Linked DNA regions of Homo sapiens: region 2 is linked to region 1. The links are contacts of gene promoters, found by promoter capture Hi-C in blood cells and fetal thymus (Javierre and others, 2016). All regions are on one chromosome and are shown on one strand. Each heading gives the region's core, a stretch centred on a gene start or on the middle of the fragment in contact. The rest is flanking DNA. Distances are from core to core; before and after follow the strand shown.

Region 1 (6,810 bases), core at 1,886-4,385:
AAAGTCCCAGAGCTTGCAAATAATGGAGTGGAGATTCCTCTAAGAGGTCATGATTCCAGGATGAAACTCTTTAATCACTATCTTGTATAGTCACATTACTACACAGGTGGGCAAATAAAGAAAACAAGGACAGAAATGGACTATGATTTAACGTTGGATTTTTAACAGCAGTTAGGAATTTGCTAATTCAATACCACAGGATTAAAAGTTTTCCAACTAGGAAGCCCCAGAGAAAATGAAGACATATTTATTAAATTATAATAGGCCTTTAAATGACTGTGTGGACATGATCATACAACTTGACACGTTTTTTCACGGGTATTTCTCATGCAGTCCAGTCTGGATCCACAACATGCTCCTGAAGGGTGTGTGGCATGAAGAAGTCACTGCCCTGGAGAGCAGGGAACTGAGAGGTAACAATCCATGAGGGGTTTTCACTTTGCCCTTGCCCTTTTCCTCCTCCCTATTCCAGTAGACACTTGGCTCCGTGCTCATTTCCTCAGAAGAGGATGAAGCAGGGTGAAAAATGAAAGTTGCCTGACAGCTACTTCTCTTTCTGCTGTTAGTGCCCAAACCCAACCACAGAAAAGGAAAGAATTCTTGAGCATAGATTCTTGAAGGGAAACGATTTTCCCTTCAGGTGAACTGCTAATAATATTAACAATTGCTCTCACTCATGGATCCCTAACTATGCATTAGGCACACTTTGAAGCACATATCTGTGTACTCATTTAATTCTGTAAAAGCTTATGAGAGAGTTATTACTAATATTGTTAGAATGCTCCATGAAGATTTGTTTTTGTCTGATTTTATTTAGTGCTATATCTCTATTTATTTACTTATTTATTTTTGAGATGGAGTCTCGCTCTGTCGCCAGGCTGGAGTGTAGTGGCACGCTCTCGGCTCACTGCAATCTCTGCCTCCCGGGTTCAAGCGATTCTCCTGCCTCACACTCCCGCGTAGCTGGGATTACAGGCGTGGGCCACCACACCTGGCTGATTTTTGTATTTTTAGTAGAGATGGAGTTTCACCATGTTGACCAGGATGGTCTCCATCTCCTGACCTTGTGATCCACCTGCCTCGGCCTCCCAAAGTGCTGGGATTACAGGAGTGAGCCACCGCGCCCAGCCTTATTTACTGCTATATCTCTAGCGTTCAGAACAATACCTGGCAAAGATTAGGAACAAATAAATATTTATTGTAGAATCAATCTCCATCTAAAGGTGAAGGAGCTCAGGCACAGAGAGATTAAGTTACCTGCCCAAAGGCCCACAGCTGGTAGAAGACTAGGAGAGTTAGAGCACCCCCACCTGGGCTGGGAGAAGAGACAAGAGGATGGGAAAGCTGTGCTTCCCGAGTAGAGGAGATCTGGGACCCTCTCCTGGGACCCTCTTGTGCCTCCAGGGAGGTAGAAAGACCACAGAGAAGAAGTGGCTCTGTTGGGTACTGGGCAGGTGGAATCTCAGGCAGCGTTGTGATGAAACCACCACACTGGGGCAAGAAGGTAGCAAAATGAGAATGCTACAGGAGCTGCAGAGAGCTCCTGGCGTGGAGGCCATGCACACAAGGACAATGGATGCCTCTAGAGCAGCCTCTGTTGATCGGTGACCAAGGATCAAGTGGCTGCTCCTTCCCCAATCCTTGATGTGTTACTCTGCTTTCCTCCAGCCAAAACAACTGGTCGTAAAAGATAAAATTGTAATACAAAATGAGAAAAGTGTTATTTTTTGTATACTTGATTTTTTTTTAACTGAAGCAGTCTCGTATTATATATAGGCAGCATTATGTAAGGAAAAATATTAAATGTGTCATCAGAAGGCCTAGATTTTAATCCTAGCTTGTCCCAACAAAAATTCGCAGGCAATTTACCTAATTTCCCTATGTCTCAGTTTCCTCATTTATAAAAATAGGGATTAAAAATCATTGAGGTGAGGATAAAAAGATTTTTTTGAAAATATAAGTTAAAGCTGTCAAAGATAATAAATGCATTGTGTTAATTTTGTATAGCTCCCACTCCCATCCCATTTGCACTTGATTTTGACACACATGTATCCTTTTTTGGTGGGTAAAGGGCTACACTTGCGTCTTCTCTTTTTACATACTAGTATTTACATTTATTTTCATTTCTGACGTTTATACTAAGTGGATGTAAACATATTTTTCAAAATTAAAAGCACTTTAGAAATAAGAAATATTAAATGATTGATATGTTGCTATTGTTGCCTGTGGGAGTAATTTTCTGGAAGTTGAAAGCCAGCTGGTCATTGAAATGTTTCATGGATAATCCTCAGGCTCAGTAAGGCCCAGGCAGGCATTTTATTGGATCTTTTCACTGAGCTGTCCTAATATTATAGATAAAAATAATTCCTGCACTAAGAAGTGAAACAATAAATTTCTAAAATGTCAGGCATTTGTTACTAAATTGTAAAAGGATCACAAACAAGATGAATTGGAAACTTCTACACCAGGTTTACTTTAAACACTTTGGCTTTTCTGAGAAATGAGAGTAAATGAAATAAACCAGCAACAATGCAAATTTACAGTCCTTGCAAAAACGTGAACTATAAATTAGGGTTATTCTATCATCAGATGTATATTAGTGGTCATGACATGCCTGGCACTCCTCTTAGAACTGAGGAGACAATAGTGAAAAAGACAGTGAAGTGCCTGCCTTTACAGAGCTTACATTCCACTGGGAGAAACCAAAAACAAACAAGTTAAATACACCACATTGTTAGACACTGCCTCGAAGGAACATACAGCAGGTACAGGAGAGACTGTTTCTAAAATAGAGAAGCAAGTCATGTGCACATCTGCAAAGATGATTTCATTACATTCAGGTTTTCTTATTCTCCAGGAGCCTATGGTGTAAAACTGAAAATAAGTGAACATGTAACAGTGGGCATACATATGCAGCTATAACTTTGACTTTACCTTGTATACAAATGTGTTGGTTTATTTATACCCAGATATCCTGTATAACCAGCAGTCTTCGCAGGCTTGAACTGCCTGGCATGCATGTTTTATCTAAGAAAAGAAGGAAGAGCGTTAGGTAGAAGGAAGTTGCCTGTCCTCTCACTGGCTCGTGATTATCACTTACTCGTCATATAAACCCAAGGCACAGTCACATACCCAGGGATACAAGACACTGCAGACTCCCGAGAGACATAACACAGGTAAGTCATATTACTGAACTCCACATAGGTAATAAATGAGATATGCTTTACTCTTTACTTCAGAGTTTTTATTATTCTCATATCCTGTTTGTGACTAACTGTCTTGTGAGCTATTTTCATGATGGTGCTCACTCTGACCTTGTCTTACCCAGAACCTCTCCATATATGCGAATATGTGAAACTCAAATAGTCATTTTTAAGGAAATATAGGTACAGGAGATTTAAGAAGATCTCTTCAAGTGGATTTTAACATAGAAAATATAATCAATGCTAGAGGAAAAATCCTGTCTTAATCAGGGTTTGTTACTACTTCCAGAATTTTCCCAAGTGATTCTTCAATAACTTGGATTGATGGAGTAGAGAATATTATCTCATGGCTGTTCAATTTCTTTCCTTTGCTTTAAAGTTTAAGACTTTTACTGGTAATATTTTATATTATTTTAAGGCACATTTTGTTGAAGCATCTCCATGTTTTGATAAGAATTGCAACCTATCATCTTTTGGCTTCAGAGATGGTTTAAGGGATTTACCCCAGGCCAGGAATTTCAACTCACAGCTCCCAAAGGATATTTCAGTTATTCCTCTTGCTTTGGCTTTAATGTGAAACAGTCACTTAAAATGACATTTAGTTGATATTTGATAAAAAAAAAAAAAATAGAGCTTTCAGCTTGCTAATTCAAAGTTAAACATCCAGTGCTTGATTGAAATCAATATCTTACTCAGTCAACAACAATTCTTCTATTTCTCTATTGTCCTATAATTTAACTCCAACCTGGCAACTTTTCCAGAATTGAACTTGAAATGCCCAGGGACACTGTGAAATGAGGGAAATTAACATTCTTTACCATCAAATGTTAGGGGTAATAAAAAGCTGTTTTAATGTCAGTATATGCAAGAAGTTCCCCTGTGAACAATAGTATCTCACATGATTGCTGTCTGAATCCAATTTTTACATTTCAGAACACCAGGGTCTATATAATAGGAGTGTAAACATGCTCTAGGCCATTACATTTTGTATAAGTTTATTACTGGGCAAGTTAAGATCTGCATCTTAAACTCAAAGAAGAGCTATAGCAAATTCACAAGTAATCTTTGTTTTTATATCTCTAACTCAGATTATTGCGCAATTACTAAGCATGTAAAAAACTGTGTCTGGAATGCCCAAATATGTTTGAATTCTTGATGTGTCGTATTTAAGAGTAAGAGCTTACGTTGGCTAACATTTTGTATTGAACTGTAGAATGGTCAATACTTAATTCCTCATTTGTAAGTTTTCTATCTAACAAAATTATTCCAAAAGTTCTCTTTTTTGAACTAAAAATATTTCGGCTGAAGTCTTTATTAAGATGTTTAGTATAGGCATTGGATATTGATTAGCCTGTGTTGTCAGAGAGTTGAAATTGGATTGTTGTCATCTTTCTGGCACAGAGACTAGAATTTTTGAGACTATTTTTTACTGTGCTTTTACAGCAGTATACGGAATAATATATTGTTAAATTGTTTTATTATAAAAGTTTGTAATTTTTTCAATGATTATGTTAAAATTGCCTCTGGGATTGAATTAATCAGATGAAATAAATCAGCATTGTATTAGTTAGTTTTCACGCTGCTGATTAAGACATACCTGAGACTGGGTAATTTATAAAGAAAAAAAAGTTTGGCCGGGCGAGGTGGCTCAGCCTGTAATCCCAACATTTTGGGAGGCCGAGGCTGGCGGATCACCTGAGGTTAGGAGGTCCTGGCCAACATGGCGAAACCACGTCTCTACTAAAAATACAAAAATTAGCTGGGCGCGGTGGTGGGCGTCTGTAATCCCAGCTACTGGGGAGGCTGAGGCAGGGAGAATCGCTTGAACCCGGGAGGCGGATGCTGCAGTGAGCCGAGATTGCGCCACTGCACTCCAGCCTGGGCGACAGAGCAAGACTCCGTCTCAAAAAAAAAAAAAGAAAGAAAAAAAAAAAGAAAAAAATTTGCCGGGCGTGGTGGTTGGTGCCTGTAATCCCAGCTACTCTGGTGGCTGCGGCAGGAGAATCGCTTGAACCCGGGAGGCAGAGGCTGCGGTGAGACGAGATCACGCCATTGCACTCCAGGCTGGGCGACAAGAGTAAAACTCCGTCTCAAAAAAAAAAAAAAAAAAAAAAAAAGGGAGGGGGGCGGGCCGGGCCCGGTGGCTCACCCCTGTAAACCCAGCACTTTGGGAGGCTGAGGCAGGCGGATCACGAGGTCAGGAGATCGAGACCACCCCGGCTAACACGGGGAAACCCCATCTCTATTAAATATACAAAAAAATTAGCTGGGCGTGGTGGCGCGTGCCTGTAGTCCCAGCTACTCGGGAAGCTGAGGCAGGAGAATGGCGTGAACCCGGGAGGTGGAGCTTGCAGTGAGTGGAGATCACGCCACTGCACTCCAGCCTGGGCGACAGAGAGAGACTCCGTCTCAAAAAAAAAAAAAAAAAAAAAAAAAAAAAAAAAAAAAAAAAAAAAGAGAAAGAAAGAAAGAAAGAAAGAAAGAAAGAAAGAAAGAAAGAAAGAAAGGTTTAGACCAGGCACAGTGGCTCACACCTGTAATCCCAGCACTTTGGGAGGCCCAGGCAGGCGGATCACAAGGTCAGATGATCGAGACCATCCTGGCCAACATGGTGAAACCCCATCTCCACTAAAAAATAAAATACAAAAATTAGCTGTATGTGGTGGCGCACACCTATAATCCTAGCTACTTGGGAGACTGAGGCAGGATAATCGCTTGAACCCAGGAGGCGGAGATTTCAGTGAGCCCAGATTGCGCCACTGCACTGCAGTTCCACATGGCTGGGGAGACCTCACCATCATAGCGGAAGAGGAAGGGATGTCTTACATGGCAGCAGGCAAGACAGAACCAGAGCCAAGTTAAAGGGGAAATCCCTTATAAAATGATCAGATCTCGTGAGACTTATTTACTACCATGAAGTCAGTATGGGGGAAACCGCCCCCATGATTCAATTATCTCCCACCGGGTCCCTCCCATGACAAGTGGGAATTATGGGAGCTACAATTCAAGATGAGATTCTGGTGGGGATATAGCCAAACCATAACAAGCATTCTATAAAGTAAAAAAAAGCTACAAGAAAGAAAGAGAAAGAAAGGAAGTACCCAAGATAGTACTTTAAAAACACTGTTATTTCCCATATAAAAGAGCTTATTTCCTAATGCATATATTAATATTAAAAGTTAAATCTTCTGCAGTGGATAGCTATGTTCATATGAGTTTATATGTCTAAGTTTTTATCCAGGGTATTTATTAGTCGTTTATGTGTTCTTTGATAAACCGTATAGGTTATTTTTCAAACAGAATTCTAAATGAGCTTTTTATCTATCTGCTGAATTAGTAACTTTACACGATATACTTTGGGGTGTAAGGAAGCCAGTGGTTAATTTTAGATGCAAAGATCTTTAGATGTAAATATCTTCAAACACAATCAGCTTTTAAACTTCAGGCTTCTGTATCATTTCAGGAAACATGCAGTTTTCTCTACATGAGATTCTTAACACAACGACAGTGGAAGGGTTCAGAAATGAAGCTAACAGGAAATAAGGGACCAGAATGATACTGCAGTTTTGCTATGCTAGTCAAATCATACCAAGATAACCTAGATGTT
Region 2 (6,810 bases), core at 2,334-4,833, 240 kb before region 1:
TTTCCCATTTACCTAAAATTCTTTTGAGTCTTCTTTCTGTCAACTCTGTAGTTATTCTAGAAATTGGATTCTTGGTGGAAAATACCATGTTTACTCTACCACACCATTTATTTTTATGAGGCTTTAATTCCATCGTCTCTCAGACATCATCTTTTAGGATCCTGGAAGAATTACTGGGTATAGGAAAGCCTGGTCTAAGAAAGTAGATTTTCTTACAGAGGCCAGAGACACAGTTATAACTGGGATTGATGTCAGCATCATAAAAACACAAGCAGGCAGGACCTCTGTCTTAGTATCTGAAGAACTGATATGACAAAAGAAAGATGTCTTATATATCATGAGGTATACTAGAAATGAGCATAGATAAATCCTAGAATTATTTTTAAAATGCATTTGGCAGGCCAAATTTTATCAATCACTATCTAAAATTAATGTTAGTTTCTCCAAATTATCAAGCAGTTGTACTAGACTATAATGTCACTAATGTGAAAGAATACCTGGAAAAATAAAAATAGACCCTTGAATGTAGGCAAGGTCCTTCAGCGGTAATTTCACACAAACAATAATTCTATGTTGCACAATAGTCAACTGATTTTATGTTACTCACATAGGATACTACATATTGTAATAATTCAGGGGGAAAATCAAACATGATCCTTTACTGTGTCTTATTTATTTATTTATTTATTTATTTATTTATTTATTTATTTAGAGATGGAGTTTCGCTCTTGTTGCCCAGGCTGGAATGCAATGGTGCAATCTCGGCTCACCGCAACCTTCGCCTCCCGGGTTCAAGCGATTCTCCTGCCTCAGCCTCCCGAGTACCTGGGATTACAGGCATGCGCCACCATGCCCGGCTAATTTTGTATGTTTAGTAGAGATGGGGTTTCTCCATGTTGGTTAGTCTGGTCTTGAACTCCCAACCTCAGGTGATCTGCCCGCCTCGGCCTCCCAAAATGCTGGGATTACAGGCGTGAGCCACCGCACCTGGCCTGCCGTGTTTTATACCCATATTTTAGTAACCTCACAAAGTTAAAAATGATTTCCAAATGAAATGTCAGAGAATTGTTTATTTTACCCAGTTATACTGTAATAAGTCCTGGATGGCACTGTGTCTAGCCTCAAGGAAACAGAACAAGTACAAAGCTAAGTTAAAGGCAACTTTATTACAATACTTTTCCAAACTTCAAAATGCATTTATTACTAAATTTAGCTCTAATATATAATACACTATATTACAAGGCAGAAAGCATTTCTGGTCATATATTTAGCTTCCATGTATTGCCCAAAACACAGCTTCCTAGGAATAGCAGCAGTGCACAGTAGTTTACGTCACTAAGTAAAATATTTCTCTGATGTCTCACAATCATTCATATTGTAATTTATTTTATGTTCTTCTGATTAAAAAAAGCAAAGCTATCTTTTCCATATCTTATTAGTTAATACCTAGAAATTGTCTATATTCTAAAAATATCCACTAGAGATATTTCCTTTGATAGGAAATAGGATTTGCAAATCCAACCAAACCAAAGAATACTGTATTTCTCCATTGCAAATAGGGGTAAAATTCTCTTCTTTCCTTTTTCAGGAGCCAAATCTGGACCTCCTCCTCTTCATAGAGCCATCCTGAATAGTACCTACTTTAAAAGATACCTAAATCTACAATGCACGCACTCTTCTTTAATAAAGTCTTTGTTTATTCTTGCCTCCTTATATTTACTTATTTAGAATAATTTACAATCAACTTTGAATGTAACATAATAATGAACTTAAAAAGTAATCTTGGGAGATGTTAATAATATAAAGAAAGTATTTTCCAAATTAGACAAGGACTTTATTTGCTCATTATCCTCTGCTTCAACCAACCAACTAACCAAATTCAACTTATGAAAATAATTCGTTTTCCAAGATTACTACCCTAATCACAACAAAAACAGATACAAATCCACAAATAGATCTAGTCCCTTAATTTTCTATTTTTTTTTTTTTTTGGTTTTACATTTGTGAGCTACCAACTAGCACAAAACATGTTCATCTTCCTTTTCTCACAACAATAGGAAATTGTTAGAAAAGTATAGAAAAAGTTCTATTTTTTCATAAGGCAAATTTAATACAGATTTTGCTATGAAGTTGAAAAAAAAAAAGTAAATGAAAAGGTATGTGCTGGCTGCTTGGGGGGCAAGGCTCATAAATCACTGTACGTTAAGAGCACGTGCTGAAACTTCATGGTGCCAGTCACGTAATTTTGTGTATTTGGGACTAAAGACGTGAAGGGGTATCTTTTCCCTGTGGAAATACAAAAAAAAAAAAAAAAAAAGAGTGATAGAAGAGTCATAAGAAATAGAAGGAAAAAGGTTCTAGACTAATTCCATCATGCAGAAAACATGCCTTATAAAAGCTTAATTTCACATAGCTGTTTTATTAAGTGGCAAAAATTTTAAGGGTAGAGCATTTTTAGAAATATAGCAATTAATCCACAGATCCCTCTTGGAAACATACATTTTTATGTTCAAAATAAAGTGACTGCAAGACAACACACGAGCTCATTCACAGACATATGTATTGTTAGCAAAGCACCCCGAAATATACCCTTCTGCCCACTTCTTATTTCAATACTAGGGAAAACAAGCCTTAAAATCCAGACAATATCTACTACTTTTAAAATCTGCAAGTTGTACATTTAGGTCACACAAAAGGCACCAAAGTTAAATGCTTAGCTTCTAGCTGCAAAGACGAAATGCCATACCATTATACTTGACAATTTGAAAAACTAAATTGAGACCATTCGTGAAAGGAAAACATTCAATTGTCAAAAAGATAGAGAACTTACTTTGCCTTCTTTGTATTATCGGCTTCAGATTCTTTCACTGAAATATAATAAGCAATATCCAATATTAGTTTGTTTTGTTTAACTTCAAAATCACTTAAGCAATTACCTGCACCAATCAATATCAAATGTTCAACTTCCATGGAGCCACTAAAACGAATTCCATAGTAGCCTGTTATTGGCCATAAACTATAGTTAGTACAACTACTATTACATCTATACTTTTCAATGTTACTCTCCTGGGCTGGTGTTTTATTTATTTATTTATTTATTTATTTTTGAGACAGAGCCCCTCCATCACCCAGGCTGGAGTACAGTGGCGTGATCTCAGCTCACTGCAATCTCTGCCTCCCCGGTTCAAATGATTCTCCTGCCTCAGGCTCCCAAGTAGCTGGGATTACAGGTGGCTTCCACGATGCCCAGATAATTTTTGTATTTTTAGTAAAGGCGGGGTTTCACCATGTTGGCTAGTCTGGTCTCGAACTCATGACCTCATGATCTGCCTGCCTCGGCCTCCCAAAGCGCTGGGATTACAGGCGTGAGCCACTGTGCCCGGCCTGGGGTCTTATTTATATTACCCATGTTATGCACAGCATAATTTAAAAGCAAACTGTCTCGGGGTTGTTTTCTGACAACTACCAATCAGTCTCAATGCCACTCTCTGGGGCAAAAAAACATTCATCCATTAGGATACCTAGAAGTTCACTTACAATGTTCAGTCCCAGTGATCTGGGCAAGGATTCGGAAAGAGCGAGACTGAGTTGTTCCAGTCCTTGGACGCCAGTCTTCAGTATCCTCAATCAGTCTCTTCTTGCTGGCATCACTGTGAGTGGGTACATGATAAAACTCTGTATAGCGCTCCACAATGTGTTTTCTTGGTGGGCTAGGGTTAAGGAGAAAAAAAAAATTAAAAATTGTAAAGTTATATTAAAAGGATAAAATATCTTCTACTAAATTATTTATAATTTATATGATTAATCTTCAATATTCCTTTTATATAAACAGTTTGCTTTGCAAGTATATTCGGTCTCAAGTTTTTAAAAGATCTATCTAAAATAGGCGGGGCACGGTGGCTCACGCCTGTAATCCCAGCACTTTGGGAGGCTGAGGTGGGCGGATCATGAGGTCAGGAGATTGAGACCATCCTGGCTAACACAGTGAAACTCCGTCTCTGCTAAAAATACAAAAAATTAGCTGGGAATGGTGGCACGTGCCTGTAGTCCCAGCTACTGGGGAGGCTGACGCAGGAGAATCGCTTGAACCTGGGATGTGGAGGTTGCAGTGAGCCAAGATCGCACCACTGCACTCCAGCCTGGGCAACAGAGCGAGACTCTGTTTCACAAAAAAACAAAACAAAAAAACCTTTTAAATTATAAGTAAAAAACTGCACTTATAATGTTAATATAAAATAATGCTATTAGAATGTATTCAACAGAAAGATTACCGTTTAGGTGGGATTTTCCTTTTAATTGACAGAGGAAGGCAGCAGAAGAAAGATTTCCAACATGAAGAAAAAGGAAAGGAAAATGATAAGAAAAAAAGAAAACAACTAGAAAATGAAAGTCCATAGTAGTCAAAATCAAACTTCTTGAAATTATTTGTATTGTTCACTGTATGCCATACGAAACACAGATGCGGACAATATTCACAACGGCCATTAATATCAATATGCTGCTAGAATGTATTGGCTTTCACGAAATTAAATGATCAAATCTTCACTAGGCCCAGGAACCAAGTATGGTTTAGTAGAGGCTAAACTAGCAATTCCGAATACAATTTTGAAAAGGGTCCGAACTATTATTTCTACAGTTTTCTCATTCATATGTACAGGTATTCCTTCTCCTAAAGAAAGCTGTGTGTGGGATCAGCATAGTGAAGAAGAGGTATGGCATTATTAGCAACTACTGAAATATATATTAACAGATCAGAATTTAAAGCTTGGCTCTAAGACTCTTTAGAAAGTCAGTCTCTTGAATATCACATACAAGGTAGTGCTGTTCTAAGGATGTGTAAACTACAGAGTTCAAGAACTTTGAGTTTGCTAAGAACATTCATTTTTATTTCAAAAGGGCATAAATACAAAGGAATTTGCAATGTATATTTTAATACTATGATATATTGAGCATCATGAATAGTCTCCACTTCTCCCCCCTCAAAACAGGGCAAATGCAAATTTTTGGAGGCTATGAGTTTAATTTCAAAAGAGAAAAAGGAACATGAATCTGGACTAGCAGACTACTGGCACAAGATACGAGTACAGAAAGTGTTATAAATGTGGTCAGATGTGAGTGGCAACACCTGCCAGGTTCAACTCACTGTGAGAAAATCATAGTGCTATCCGCAGGCCACACGACTGTCATCATTTTAACAGTTACATAACCAAAACTGTCTCAGCACACTGGAAAAGCTTTTCCCCAGTGAAGAACAGGATAGAATTACAGTTAGTAACACTGGCTTTAAAATCAGATTCAGTGTGTGCTTTATGCAAGTCATTTCTCTAAGCTCAATTTCCTCATCTGAGAAATAAGACTTGCATCTTAAAGGGTTATTTAAGAACAAATAAGATAGATAATGTATGTAAAGTGCTTTCTGCAGTACATAACATGAGGTAATGATCATCATAATGTATTCTTTTATGATTACTAGAAAATCAACTGTAATACATGTTCTACGACTATGAATAATCTGCATATACAAAATAACAAATCAGTAACATTTATGCAAAAAATCATAAAAAATACTATAACTTATGGTAATATGGTAATATCATGATTCCACAAGTAAAACATCTAAAAGACCTTCCACTAATATTGAACAAAACCTAGTTCTTTTAAAAATGAACAAAATGTTTTAAAATTAAGAAATAAGCATACATTTCTTCATAAACACACTGCCTTTGGCAGCCATAAAACAGACAACTCTTTATCTTATGCAAGTCCTTGAAAAATTTTATATTGAGCTACTAAACTTATTATAGTTTTAAATTTCTCTACAAGTATTGAGTGTAGTTTGCTCTTAAATGATGCCAATTTCAAGTGTAAGACTATTTTATCCTCTATAAAAGGTTTGGTGTCTAAAAACAAAACAATGGTGTCAAGCTAAGATATCACGAATAATAGAATGACACTACCTAAGTAGTATTTTTAGTTATGACACACTTGTAAAAAGTACACTACCCCTTAGATTCTTTGTGTTGTTTACCACACCTTAAGGTCTTATGTCAAATGATATAAAGTTTCTAAACATTTAGTGTTTTCTGGTTCTGAAACTCCAGAGTGTGATGACCATGATGAAAGAAAAGAAAAATTTCAATAATTTTATTTTAAAAAATGCATTTGGGATATAATGTAAACTTTACTCTCAGGAGCAAGTAATTTATTTCAAAATACAGACATTAAAATAATAATAATAATAAGCTAAAGGAAAGCCCAAACTACAGTTCTAACTCTGGTATACACTGTCCATAATACTCATCTATATCTCAATGAAGGTTAACTTACTAAGTTTTTCATTACAGAAGTGTGGGTGTTCTAAACATACCTCTGATGCATACAAAATTATCTAGCATAAAAAAAAATGCTTCTTATGCTCCTTAACATTTTTGAAAATTCTTATAATGAGAAAATCCTAACAAAATTTGCTGGTAGTATTAAATTGAAAGCAAGAAGGAAAGTTACAGAGACAATTACAAAGTGAATCATTGGTTAAGTACTTACACAGTGCCAGGGTTACTGAGGGAAGAATAACACACACAAAAAAAGATGCGATAGAGTAGAGAAGACATTGATGTTCCCCGGAAGATGAACAACAGACAAAGAGGGGAGAAAAGAAGAAAAAGAAAAGACAATGAAATAAAATTCAAAACAATGATTTTCAGTGAAGATGTTACACAAACATCATGCTTCAAAATAATTATGTAAACACAGACCAAAAAATGAACAAATGTTAGTAAAAATTCTACTACACTGTTATAATCAAGACAA

Evidence for each region. The method cuts DNA at HindIII sites, captures the fragments that hold promoters and counts their contacts. A CHiCAGO score of 5 or more calls a contact.
Region 2: a contact is called between a fragment that was not itself captured here and the fragment with the promoter of HPGDS in region 1, in 2 of 17 cell types (megakaryocytes and M0 macrophages). The highest score is 5.1, in megakaryocytes.

What each region holds. Positions count from the first base shown.
Region 1 is chr4:94,339,161-94,345,970 of GRCh38, reverse strand. HPGDS (hematopoietic prostaglandin D synthase) reads left to right here and starts at 3,135. Exons shown (of 6, transcript NM_014485.3): 1 at 3,135-3,176. The HindIII fragment of the contact is 10,951 bases long and covers 749-6,810 here.
Region 2 is chr4:94,582,465-94,589,274 of GRCh38, reverse strand. PDLIM5 (PDZ and LIM domain 5) reads right to left here. Exons shown (of 13, transcript NM_006457.5): 6 at 3,538-3,710; 7 at 2,831-2,867. Among named protein-coding and RNA genes, the nearest start is that of PDLIM5, 130 kb to the right of the region's middle. The HindIII fragment of the contact is 2,366 bases long and covers 2,401-4,766 here.